3 separate regions of the Homo sapiens genome follow, and all the other regions are linked to region 3. The links are contacts of gene promoters, found by promoter capture Hi-C in blood cells and fetal thymus (Javierre and others, 2016). All regions are on one chromosome and are shown on one strand. Each heading gives the region's core, a stretch centred on a gene start or on the middle of the fragment in contact. The rest is flanking DNA. Distances are from core to core; before and after follow the strand shown.

What was found. The method cuts DNA at HindIII sites, captures the fragments that hold promoters and counts their contacts. A CHiCAGO score of 5 or more calls a contact.
Region 1: a contact is called between a fragment that was not itself captured here and the fragment with the promoter of CAHM in region 3, in 1 of 17 cell types (fetal thymus). The highest score is 5.7, in fetal thymus.
Region 2: a contact is called between the fragment with the promoter of TFB1M here and the fragment with the promoter of CAHM in region 3, in 1 of 17 cell types (naive CD8 T cells). The highest score is 8.5, in naive CD8 T cells.

The regions. Positions count from the first base shown.
Region 1 is chr6:169,720,614-169,723,762 of GRCh38, reverse strand. It overlaps PHF10 (PHD finger protein 10), which reads left to right. Exons shown (of 12, transcript NM_018288.4): 2 at 2,652-2,758. Among named protein-coding and RNA genes, the nearest start is that of PHF10, 2.3 kb to the left of the region's middle. RefSeq lists a silencer at 1-161. The HindIII fragment of the contact is 1,516 bases long and covers 593-2,108 here.
Region 2 is chr6:155,313,126-155,316,505 of GRCh38, reverse strand. TFB1M (transcription factor B1, mitochondrial) reads left to right here and starts at 2,022. Exons shown (of 7, transcript NM_016020.4): 1 at 2,022-2,210. The coding sequence starts at 2,078. RefSeq lists enhancers at 1,208-1,257, 1,808-1,857, 939-1,929, 1,928-2,247 and a silencer at 1,678-1,757. The HindIII fragment of the contact is 4,007 bases long and covers 561-3,380 here.
Region 3 is chr6:163,412,298-163,415,688 of GRCh38, reverse strand. It overlaps CAHM (colon adenocarcinoma hypermethylated), which reads left to right and starts at 1,739. Exons shown (of 1, transcript NR_037593.1): 1 at 1,739-2,624. It overlaps QKI (QKI, KH domain containing RNA binding), which reads right to left and starts at 971. Exons shown (of 8, transcript NM_006775.3): 1 at 354-971. The coding sequence starts at 495. It overlaps LOC124901234 (basic proline-rich protein-like), which reads right to left. Exons shown (of 4, transcript XM_047419614.1): 2 at 1,604-3,075; 3 at 1,021-1,440; 4 at 513-724. The coding sequence starts at 2,483. The coding sequence ends at 513. RefSeq lists silencers at 1-142, 343-392, 643-1,462, 1,553-2,332 and enhancers at 413-1,066, 1,067-1,719. The HindIII fragment of the contact is 4,236 bases long and covers 1-3,356 here.

The DNA.
Region 1 (3,149 bases), core at 101-2,600, 6.3 Mb before region 3:
CGCCCAGCGTCTCGGGGGCGTGGGCCCAGGCCGGGCGCCGCGCCTGAGACCGGGGGTGGTCGGCGAGGCGGGGCCCCGAGGTGAGCCCGCGGCCTCTAGCGAGCAACAAGTGCGGGCGGGCGGGGGACGCGGCGCGGCTTCCCCGAAGTTGGCAGCCGGCCCTGCTTGACAAGCTTGTCCCCAAAACGCCTCCTCCTAGGCCAGCCGTGGGACGGAACGCGCCCGGGGCCGAGAGAGTTGGCCTCGGAGGGGCCTGCAGAAGCGCGCGTTCGCTCAGCGTTCATTCCGCGCATAGTTTGCCGAAGTGTTTGAACGCTTACTGCAAAAACCGAGTGGCGAACGATATGGAAAATCAACACACTCAGTGAACTTACTGTAATAACTAAGTTAATACGCAAGCGTCCGGATGTTTTCAGCGGAAGTCTGTTAAAACTTTTTACTGCTTGAGGAGGTGAAAAGAAATTGGTGCTTGTGGAGAAAATGGAGATGAGCAGTAGTGTCACGCATCAAAACGTTTTGGTTCTAAAGTTAGGCTAGCAGTTTGTGACAGAAAGTTGGAAGGGAGGAATGATGTTTTAAAAGCCTGGAAGCTTGAAATTGGATTGAAATTAGAAGGCGGTGGGAACTGGAATGCTGCAGAGCCAGCCAGCCTTCGTGCGGTGCGCGGTGTGCCGTGTGCGCGTTGGCAGGGGAAGCCGTCCTGTAGCAGCCTAGCCGGGCTGCGCCTGCTTGGGAGCTTTTCCCGTTGCGCACGTCCACCGTGCTGTGAGACTCATTTTGAAGGTTCCTCAAAGGCTGTCGTCAATGGAAGTAACTAGATTGTAAGACTCTGAATGCACATCCTTGCACTTCCAGCATTTGACGTCTGGCCCGGCACCTGGAGGGCACTGAGCCAGTGCCCCCTGAGTGCATTCTTGACCCCTGAGCCCTAGGAAGGATGTGATGCATAGAAATTCATCTGATCTGTAGTTGGAAACCACCTGTAACTCTGGAAGGCACATCTCTGATTTAGTATGTTTGGGAGTCTTTGAAAACATGGGCCTCTGTATCAGTATTGCGGTTACACGGAAATTCTTACCTTATTCCGTCATGTATTGGGAACAATATTGCTGTTACTACCTCCCTCAAGAAAAAGGCCCGCTGCCCAGATGCTCACTTTATATAATAATGCCTTTGCCTAGAATTTGTAGTAGTAATTTAAAACACTTGATGAAATTGTAGTCTCAGCTTTTTTGAGCACTTTGCATTTTTAACTTTATTTTTGTATATTTTTGAGTGTCTCAACTTTTTAGCTAAAGGAAAATGTTTTTAAGTTTAAGGATATAAAAATCCTTAAAATGCTCACCAGTAAAATAGAAAAAATACTGGAATGTTTAAAATGAGTTATGTTGAAAGTATTGAATATGCAGTGTTGCAGTTGTATGCAGATACTTATGCAAATTTTCAGAGAGTAGATTTAGACTATGCAAAGCTCTTTAATGAAATGCTTATTTTATAAGGACTGAAAAAGAATATATATTTTACTATTTGGAAAAGAACCAGTTAATTCCTAGGAGCTAGAGACATTTGAGACTTTATTATCATCATAATCATCATTTTAACTAATATTTATCAGATAACTCGCCAGTCCTTGTTCTAAGTACTTTTAATATAGTAGCTCGTTTAATCATTGAATTAGCCATGTAATGGGGCACTATTATAGTCTCAAATTTTCGGATAAGGAGATGCTCACAGAGAATAACCTACTCAGCTAGTGAGGGACAGTGCCCAGTGAGAACCCAGGCCGTCCAGCTCTGGCATGCCTGGCCACTATACCATATTGCCTCTTTATATTCTTTTGCAGGATTGCTTTCATTTTAATATGTAGCAAGAGGACTATAGTATTTAGCAAAATTGGATTAGCGTTGAAAGCTATATTACATTAAAAAATTATGATTTTTAGACTTTAAGCCTTGGCTAATAAGTAAATAAATCAATTTCCTAACATCTGATACTTTTTCTGAATGAAATGGTTGAATTTATAACCTTGATGTTCTTGCCACATAATGGATTACATTAAAAATATATAATCTTCTTTAAAAAAAAAATTCCCCTCCCCCTCTCAAGCTTCTTTTTTTGGTGTGTGTGCTGCTATATTATAGATTGATGACCCTTATTAGGGTATATTTTTGCTAAATTTTAGCAGTGTAAGAGGAAGAGTGAATAGTTAGAATTGTTTTCGGTCTCATATGTCCCCTTTTCACAGGGACATAAATGCCTAAAGTAGTCAATTAAAATAGTCCTATGAACCGGCTTCAAGTTGAATTGAGAACTGTAAATGATCCATACATTTTTTTCCCCCTGAGCTTGGGTAGGAGAGTTTGCTTTAATCCTAGAGTGATGCAGCAGTTTGATATGTTTATGAAGAGCAGAAACCAAAGCAGATTTGCATTTACGGGTTCATTGAAAATGTTCTTATTTGGATTGGATTGAAGATCAGTTTTAAATTTTATTCCAGGTCTTGCTCATGCCAAACTCTTGGACCCTTTTAATTATAATATGAAGTTAATACTTGTATGACTAGTTGTCCTTAGACAGTCTTTCATTTATTGAGACTTACTGTTCTTTTATTCTTTCTCTAATTATTATTTTTGAATCTTTTAAATGTATAGGATGATAATGAAGATAATTCAAATGATGGGACCCAGCCATCCAAAAGGAGGCGAATGGGCTCAGGAGATAGTTCTAGGAGTTGTGAAACTTCAAGTCAAGATCTTGGGTACTGTCATTTTATCGGTTATTAATATTTTTTGTGATGTTCCTCTTTGCCTTAACATCCTCTTCCCTTTCCCCCAGCTCTGGCAAAGGCAATTATTAAAAATTGTAGAATATTTTCTTCCTGTTCTATAATGTGCCATCAAAGTTGGTCTTGCTACTGAGTGTAATTAAAAAGCAATTTTATGATAGTAAAATACATACATACATAAAATTAATCATTTTAACAATTTTTAAGTGTGAAATTCATTGGCATCAGTTACATTCACAGTGTTGTGCAGCCATTACCACCATCCATTTCCAAAACTTTCACTACCCCAAACTTTATAACCATTAAGCAATAACCTCCCTTTCTCCCTCTATTTAGCGCCTTGCAACCATCATTCTACTTTCTA
Region 2 (3,380 bases), core at 773-3,272, 8.1 Mb after region 3:
CCATCCATAAATTCATATTTAGATCTGGGGACAAATTATCAGGAATCTACAAATTCTCCACGCAAAGGTGTTTCACTCATTTAGATTTTAGTTTGTTTTTATGTTGATGTTAATCTTTTAAAAAGCTCATGTGATTATATTTGGGGTCATCTGAACATCCTCTTTATACCTGTTACACAACGTGTGTGTTCATGGTAGCATTAGTGCCAAATAATTCAAATTCACTTGTTTCCAAGCTACTGAAAACAGATGCAGGCAGACTTAATATGTAGCTTCCATATTCTTCCAAAAGAAAGACAAGCGACAATGGAAAAAAAATTGAACAAAGATTTGGTAATAGTTTGACTCCAGAAAACTAATGAGAACATTCAGTCATTACATGGCACACTGGATCACTGGTAGGCTGAAACTTAAAAAAAAAAAAAAAAGAAAACCTGCCAGTTAGCACTAAGTGTCGTGATTTAACAGTGTTCATCCTTGTCAATTAATAAGACCATTTGTATTGGTTTTGTATATATTTATTGCAATTGTTTTAAATAGTCATATGAAAACTGTAAGCTTATGTTTACACCTAGATTCGTATTTCTATATATTTAGATGTTACAAAATTAACACATATTAACTTAAAAATAATAAGCTGATACTTGAGTGTGGCCAGTGAGATCAGAACTCAGAAAAAACACAACTCAGGTTGTCTTCTCTCTGTACTTTGCTGTCTGACTCTGGGCATTGTCAAATGACCTCACCTCCCCTATTTCTTCACAGCAAACTAAGAATAATAATCTCATTCACATGGGACCATTGTGAGGAGTACGGGAAATAATGAATATAACTGTGAAATAATGCTTTGTCAGGTATACTGTGTTTTGGACGATAAGATATCTGAATCAAGAGTTTGTACTTCCAGTCTACATTTTGATGCCACGTTGGGCAAATCTCCTTACCTCTATGGTAGTCATCACTATTTTTTAAAGCTAGGAGATTATCTCAGTTCCTTTTAAAACAGCTTTTATAGAAGGTGGTTGAGTTTTCCACTGGAATTTCAAAGTACTCCTCATTTTTATATCCATACCCATAGTTGTTTCGTTTTCCATTAGCTTTTTTAAAAACTTACTAATTGAGGAACAGAAACTTTAAAATTCATTTGTGATCAACGCAGCAATGTCCAAACATAAGCAGGGTTAAAACAGCAAAATTCTCCCACCTATCAGAGAAACTTTAATTTTTTTTTTTTTTTGCTTCGTTGTTTTTATCTCGTATAACGGAAAGACAGAACTCATATTTCAGTCTTCTCTCTGTTCTTAGCTGTAATCCTAGCAAATCGAATGACCTCTTTACACTGGCCAATTATTCATCTGCCAAATAATAACAGCCACCACTGATCACGTGGGAGCTTACCCAATGCCATGCGTGCACTATGTTCTGAACGTGCACACCAGGCGATCTCTCTCATTTAGTGCTCACAATTTTGAGGTAGACATTAGCTCCATTTAACTGATGAAAAAACTGAGGCTGAACGAAGTTAAAAACCCATCATGCAGCATCTGCAGAGCGGCGGTTCTAAAAACGCCTCACAGTAAGAAAGAATTGCTAACAAACAGTAGCTTTGCCTCTAAGCACCCGCTTTTCCTCTAATATTCACAGACAGGTATTTAGAACGTTAAAGAGCCGGAAGCCCTTGGGAACTTCAGGGCGGGAGTAAACCGGCTGCACCTCTCAGAGCAACTCCTCCGAAAAACCCCACCCTGTCCAGGCCCCGCCTCGTCCCGCCCTCCTGGGCGCTCTCCCCATAGCCCGCCCAGGAGAAGCCTAGTCCACCCGGCTCTCCCCCGGCTCTCACAGGCGGAAGCCGCCGACCACCCAGCCTGCCCTTCTCGCGGCAGGACTTAGCGCATGCGCTCTCAGCACGCCGGGAATTTCCTGTCCGCGGTCATCGCTTCCGGTGGGATAGGTCTGACCAATGGGGCTGACTCCGAGGCGGGCCTTAGGTCTCGCAGGTTCCTCCCCTGCGCGTTTCTTTCGGAGCGGCGGTGAAGGTCCTGGGTGAGGTAGGGTTGGATGGTGCTTGCCGCGTATCATGGCTGCCTCCGGAAAACTCAGCACTTGCCGTCTCCCTCCGTTGCCCACGATTCGAGAAATCATTAAGTTGTTAAGACTGCAAGCAGCGAAGCAGCTATCACAGAATTTCCTCCTGGACTTGAGGCTGACAGGTGGATGGCTTAGCAGTGCTCCCCGGATGTCTCCCCAGTGTCCGTGGGGGCGTGGGCCGGGGGGTCTTGCACGTCCCCGCGGGCGGGTGTCCAGGCACTGGCGTGCGACGGGCTTTTGGTCAGGTCCTTCGACCTCTTTGTATCAGAACTCCGGTCCCACCGCCCAGGAGACACGTGAAGTGCGTTGATTGCTCACAAAACTCCGCGTTCGGGGGGGTGTAGCCTGCCGGCAGGCTGCATAAATGCCAAGCTCCCTAGGGGAGGAAGGGTTCATGGGTCGTGAAAGGCGCTAGTGAATATTGGAATCTGGGTCACTGTGAAATCAATCATTCTGAAATAGTACAGCACATGCTGACTGCAGTTGCTTTACATGCAGTTTAAAGTTACCAGAATTTAAATTGATGCGAGGATTTTATCAATAACTTGGTGAAAAGAGTATCCCTCGTATGATTCGTTTTTTAAACGTTTACCTGTTCAGTCTAAGCCTCGGGGGCGCTAATATTCATTCATAAGTACATATTACACAAGCAACATTGTGCTAGTGCCGGGGGTAGGATATGGGCGTGAACAAGGCGGTGTTTCCTCGAGGAGCTTACTTTTAGCAAGTTTACATTCCCACACCTAATTGTTTAAAGTTACTTTTTATGAGATATAATTTATGTGCAATAAAATTAATAAGTTTGAAGTGCTCAATTTGATGAGTTTTGACGAATGTATTTATATATTGGTTTAACCACCATCACCATTGCTTAGTGATGTTCTATGAGATGAGGTTGCAAAAATATATTACAAATACGTCTACTAAGTCACGGCTGGAGTACTTAGGTTTTGAGATTTTCATATTTCATTCTATTTAGTCCCACTTCAGAAGTTGAAAAGAGCAGTAAATCACACCCAAAAAGTTCATTTTCACTTAAATGAAGCACACTCCAGAAAACATAAAATGTTTTATTTCTTGGACATGTAGTCTTTATTCTGCCTGTACCAATATGACTTTGGATAAAATAATTTAACTCAAGTTTTCTCTTTTTTTTTTTTTTCTTTTTTTAAGATGGAGTTTCACTCTTGTTGCCCAAGCTGGAGTGCAATGGCATGATCTCAGCTCACTGCAACCTCCGCCTCCCCGGTTCAAGTGATTCTCGTGCCTCAGCCTCCCAGGTAGCTAGGATT
Region 3 (3,391 bases), core at 490-2,989:
GCGAGGACCACCGAGTCCGCGCAGCCCCCGCCGACCTCTCGGAAATGTGACCGCCGAAGCTAGAGGGGCCGCAGGGCTCACCCCGCAGCCCTCCGCAACGCGCCAACTTGGACGCCAGCGGCGCGGGGTCCCGGCCGGGCAGGGGGCGTCCGGCACCGGCGGGTCCACCCCGGCCCGCCCGCCCGCCGCAAGCCCGGCCCGGCACCTCCTTTGTGCGCCCTCCTGGCCTCCCAGTCCCCCCGGCGCTCGGTCCCGCCCGGCCGTGACCTTCCCGCCCTCCCCACCATCCCAAGCGGGGAAAGGGGCCGCCCCGGCGGGGGTCGGGCCGGGGCCGGGGCCCTGGAGACGCTCACCTTCGTCCAGCAGCCGCTCGAGGTGGTTGAAGATCCCGCAGAAGTTGGGCAGGCTGCTCATGAGCTTCTTGTCGTTCATCAGCTGCATCAGGTAATCTGGGGTGGGCTTCGGCTTCTCCTTCGTTTCCATTTCCCCGACCATATTCCAGGCTCCGCAGCTCACTCCGCCCGCCGCCGCCGCCGCCGCCGCCGGAGAGGAGGGAGGGGCGGGGGCGAGCCCCGGCCGCGGGCCGCTCGGGACCCGGCGTCCCGCTCCGCGCCGGCTCCCGCTCTGGCTCCCGCGCCGAGCCCCGGGGCGGCCGGCACCGCGCGCTCGCCCGCCCCCCGCAGGCACTTTCCGCCCGGGCCCGACGCGCTCCCAGCCGCCGCCGCTCTCGGCCGCCCGGCTCGGCGCGTCCCTCACGAGGCCGGCGGGCGGGCGGGAGGCGGGTCTCGGCTGGCCGAGTGCGGGCGCGGGGCGCGGGCTGCTGGCGCCGGACGAGGAGGAGCCGGGGCCGCCGCTCGCTCGGCTGGTCGAGCCCGCTCAGCGCCGCCGCCGCCTGTGCCGCGGGCTCGGGGGGTCTCTCTGGGCTGGTCCCCGCCGCGGCGCCTCTGCCGCTGCCGCCGCGCTCCGACTGCGCTCCTCCTCTTCCTCCTCCTCCTTCTCCTCCTCCTCCTCCTCACTCACTTGGCGGCGGAGTTCGCCTCAGTTCAGGCGGCGCTGCCAGCGGCGGCGGCAGCAGCGGCGGCGGCGGGGGGAGGGGCAGCGGCGCGGGGAGGGCCGGGGGCGGGCGGCGGGCGGGGCCGCGCAGGGCGGCCGTTAGCGGGTCCCGGCCGGCGCGCTCCCGCTGCCTGCTGCCCGCCGCCCCGCGACCGGGGCAGCCGCCGGCGCCGCGCCCCCTCCTCCCTGCCTCCCCGGCGGGGCGGGCGACGGGGGCAACGGGAGTGTGACGGACTGCGGCGCTCGGCGGGCCTGGGCGCAAGGACTGGGTCGCCGCCGTGCGGGGCGCCCGGGGCGGGTGGGTGTGGGCTGCGGGGCCGACGGCCGCGGGGGGGGCGCGGGGCTTTCCACGGCACGGGGCGGGTGGGGCTGCGGGCGCGGTCGGGGCTGGCGCGGCAGGCGAGAGGAATTCCAGCGGGACGCGCCAGCGCTGCCTCCGCCTCGCCTCCCGTTACTATAGTTTTTTCAGAACCTCTTATCCACCCCGCAGAAGAGAAATTTTTTTTTAACGTCCTGTTGCTTCACGGGGGACTTTCGGGGTGGGCATCACGTGGCCCGACACGTAGCCGTGGGGCTCCAGAGCGCGTGCGCGCGTCGAGCCCGGTCGCCACGCCCCTTCCGAGGGTCGCTCCGCCCCCGTCGGGCCCCGCGAGCGCGCGGTGGGGGAGGGGAGGGCCCCGGAGCGCGCCTGCGTGGGGCGGGGGCGGCAGCCGACTAGGGGCTGGGTCTGGCCGTTTAGGGCCGGGTCTTGGCCCGTCGCCCACGGTGCGGAGGGCTGGTGGGCTTTCCTTGGCCGTCGGGCCCGCCACGGCGCGGGTCTTGGCTGCGGGGCGGAGGTGGGGCGGGAGAGCCGAGGATAAGAGTTTGAGGCTTTTCGAGGCGCGTGCCGCGGCGTCCGCCTCTGCGGGACTCTGCGCCGGGCGCCCTCGGCCGGCGCGCCCGGCTCCCGCTTTGTCGCCGAGGGAAGCACGCGCGACGCCCCTCCCGTCGCCGCCGTGGCTTCTTTCGGTGTTCGTGATTTGCTGAGAGGCTGGAAAGCAGCACGGCGGAGAGGAGCCTTGCACTCGCCAGGCGGGAAGCCTGCGCGGACACGCGTGCGCACCCACGGGGCGGCGGGCGGGCGTGGGGGGTCCGGGCCACGCGGGCGACGCGCCTCTAGGGAAGCGATCTTGTTGCACCTTCCCGTTATTCTGAAAGCAAATCGTAGCCAGACCCGAGCGCAGCGGCTTAGCAAATAATAAGGGGAGCGTCAGTCGTGCTCGAAATGCTTCCTTCGCGATGGCGTCAGTGTTCCGTGAGGGAATGAAGCCGCAGTAGGAAATAAAGAGGCTGTGCGCGTAGTCTGAAAAGCAGAAGTCAACATTTTTACAGATGAAGAAAGAATACGGAGGCAAGAGGTCTTTCTCTGCAGTTTGGTGGATTTCCAACATTTAGACTTGTTTGGAAGAATTTCCTCAGCTGCACCAATGAAGTCCTTGATCTATAGAAGTCGGCAGTCCCTAAATCTACGTCTGCATTTTGTTGCAAATCCTTTATAACATTCCATTAAAATAATGCAGAGTTATTTAATATCCAGTTGGCCATCGTGAGAGTAATTCGCGGCTGAGATTTTGTTAATCATTCTGTCTTCTGACTTAACAGTGAACGTAGGTGATTTTTTTTGTAAAATGTTGCTTCACATGAATTGTGAGAATCACCTCTAAGTTTGAATTGTACTGAAGGCACTATAAGAATTTCAAATGAACGCTGAGTAGCCAGTAGCCTTCTGGCCTTTTCGTTTAACAAGCACAGAGTTCGTTTTTAAAATTAAGTTACTTTGACAGAGGAAATGTAATAGCCTTGGTAGACAACATTAAAAATGTAACTGTCAGATGTTTTAAAGTCTCCAACAGCCGTATCTGTTTTAGAGCCATAGAATATTTACTTACTGAATTGCCTGTTTAAAGATGAACTTTCTAAATGCAGGGAATAGTAACTTGCAAAAAAGCTATGGTCTCTAAGTAATGAAGGCTGTTTCAGTACCTAGAAAAATCAAAATCAAGGTTTTGATGCTGCTAGTGTAAAAGATGCAATCCCCTTCTTAATGGCCTGCTTATTTATTAAGCTCCTAGGCACTATGCTGAATGCCCTACATGCATATCTCGTTTAATCATCAGTACAACTTGGGCTTAGGTTAGACTGTTATCCCCATTTTACAAATAAGGGGAAACCCAAGAAAGATGAAGTTAAGTAACTTGCCCAAGAATATAGCTAGTGAGTCCTGTGTCTGGGATTATAATCCAATTATATTTTATTCTAAAGCTTTTTTTTTTTTTTTTGCTTTTTTTCCTTGCCCTAT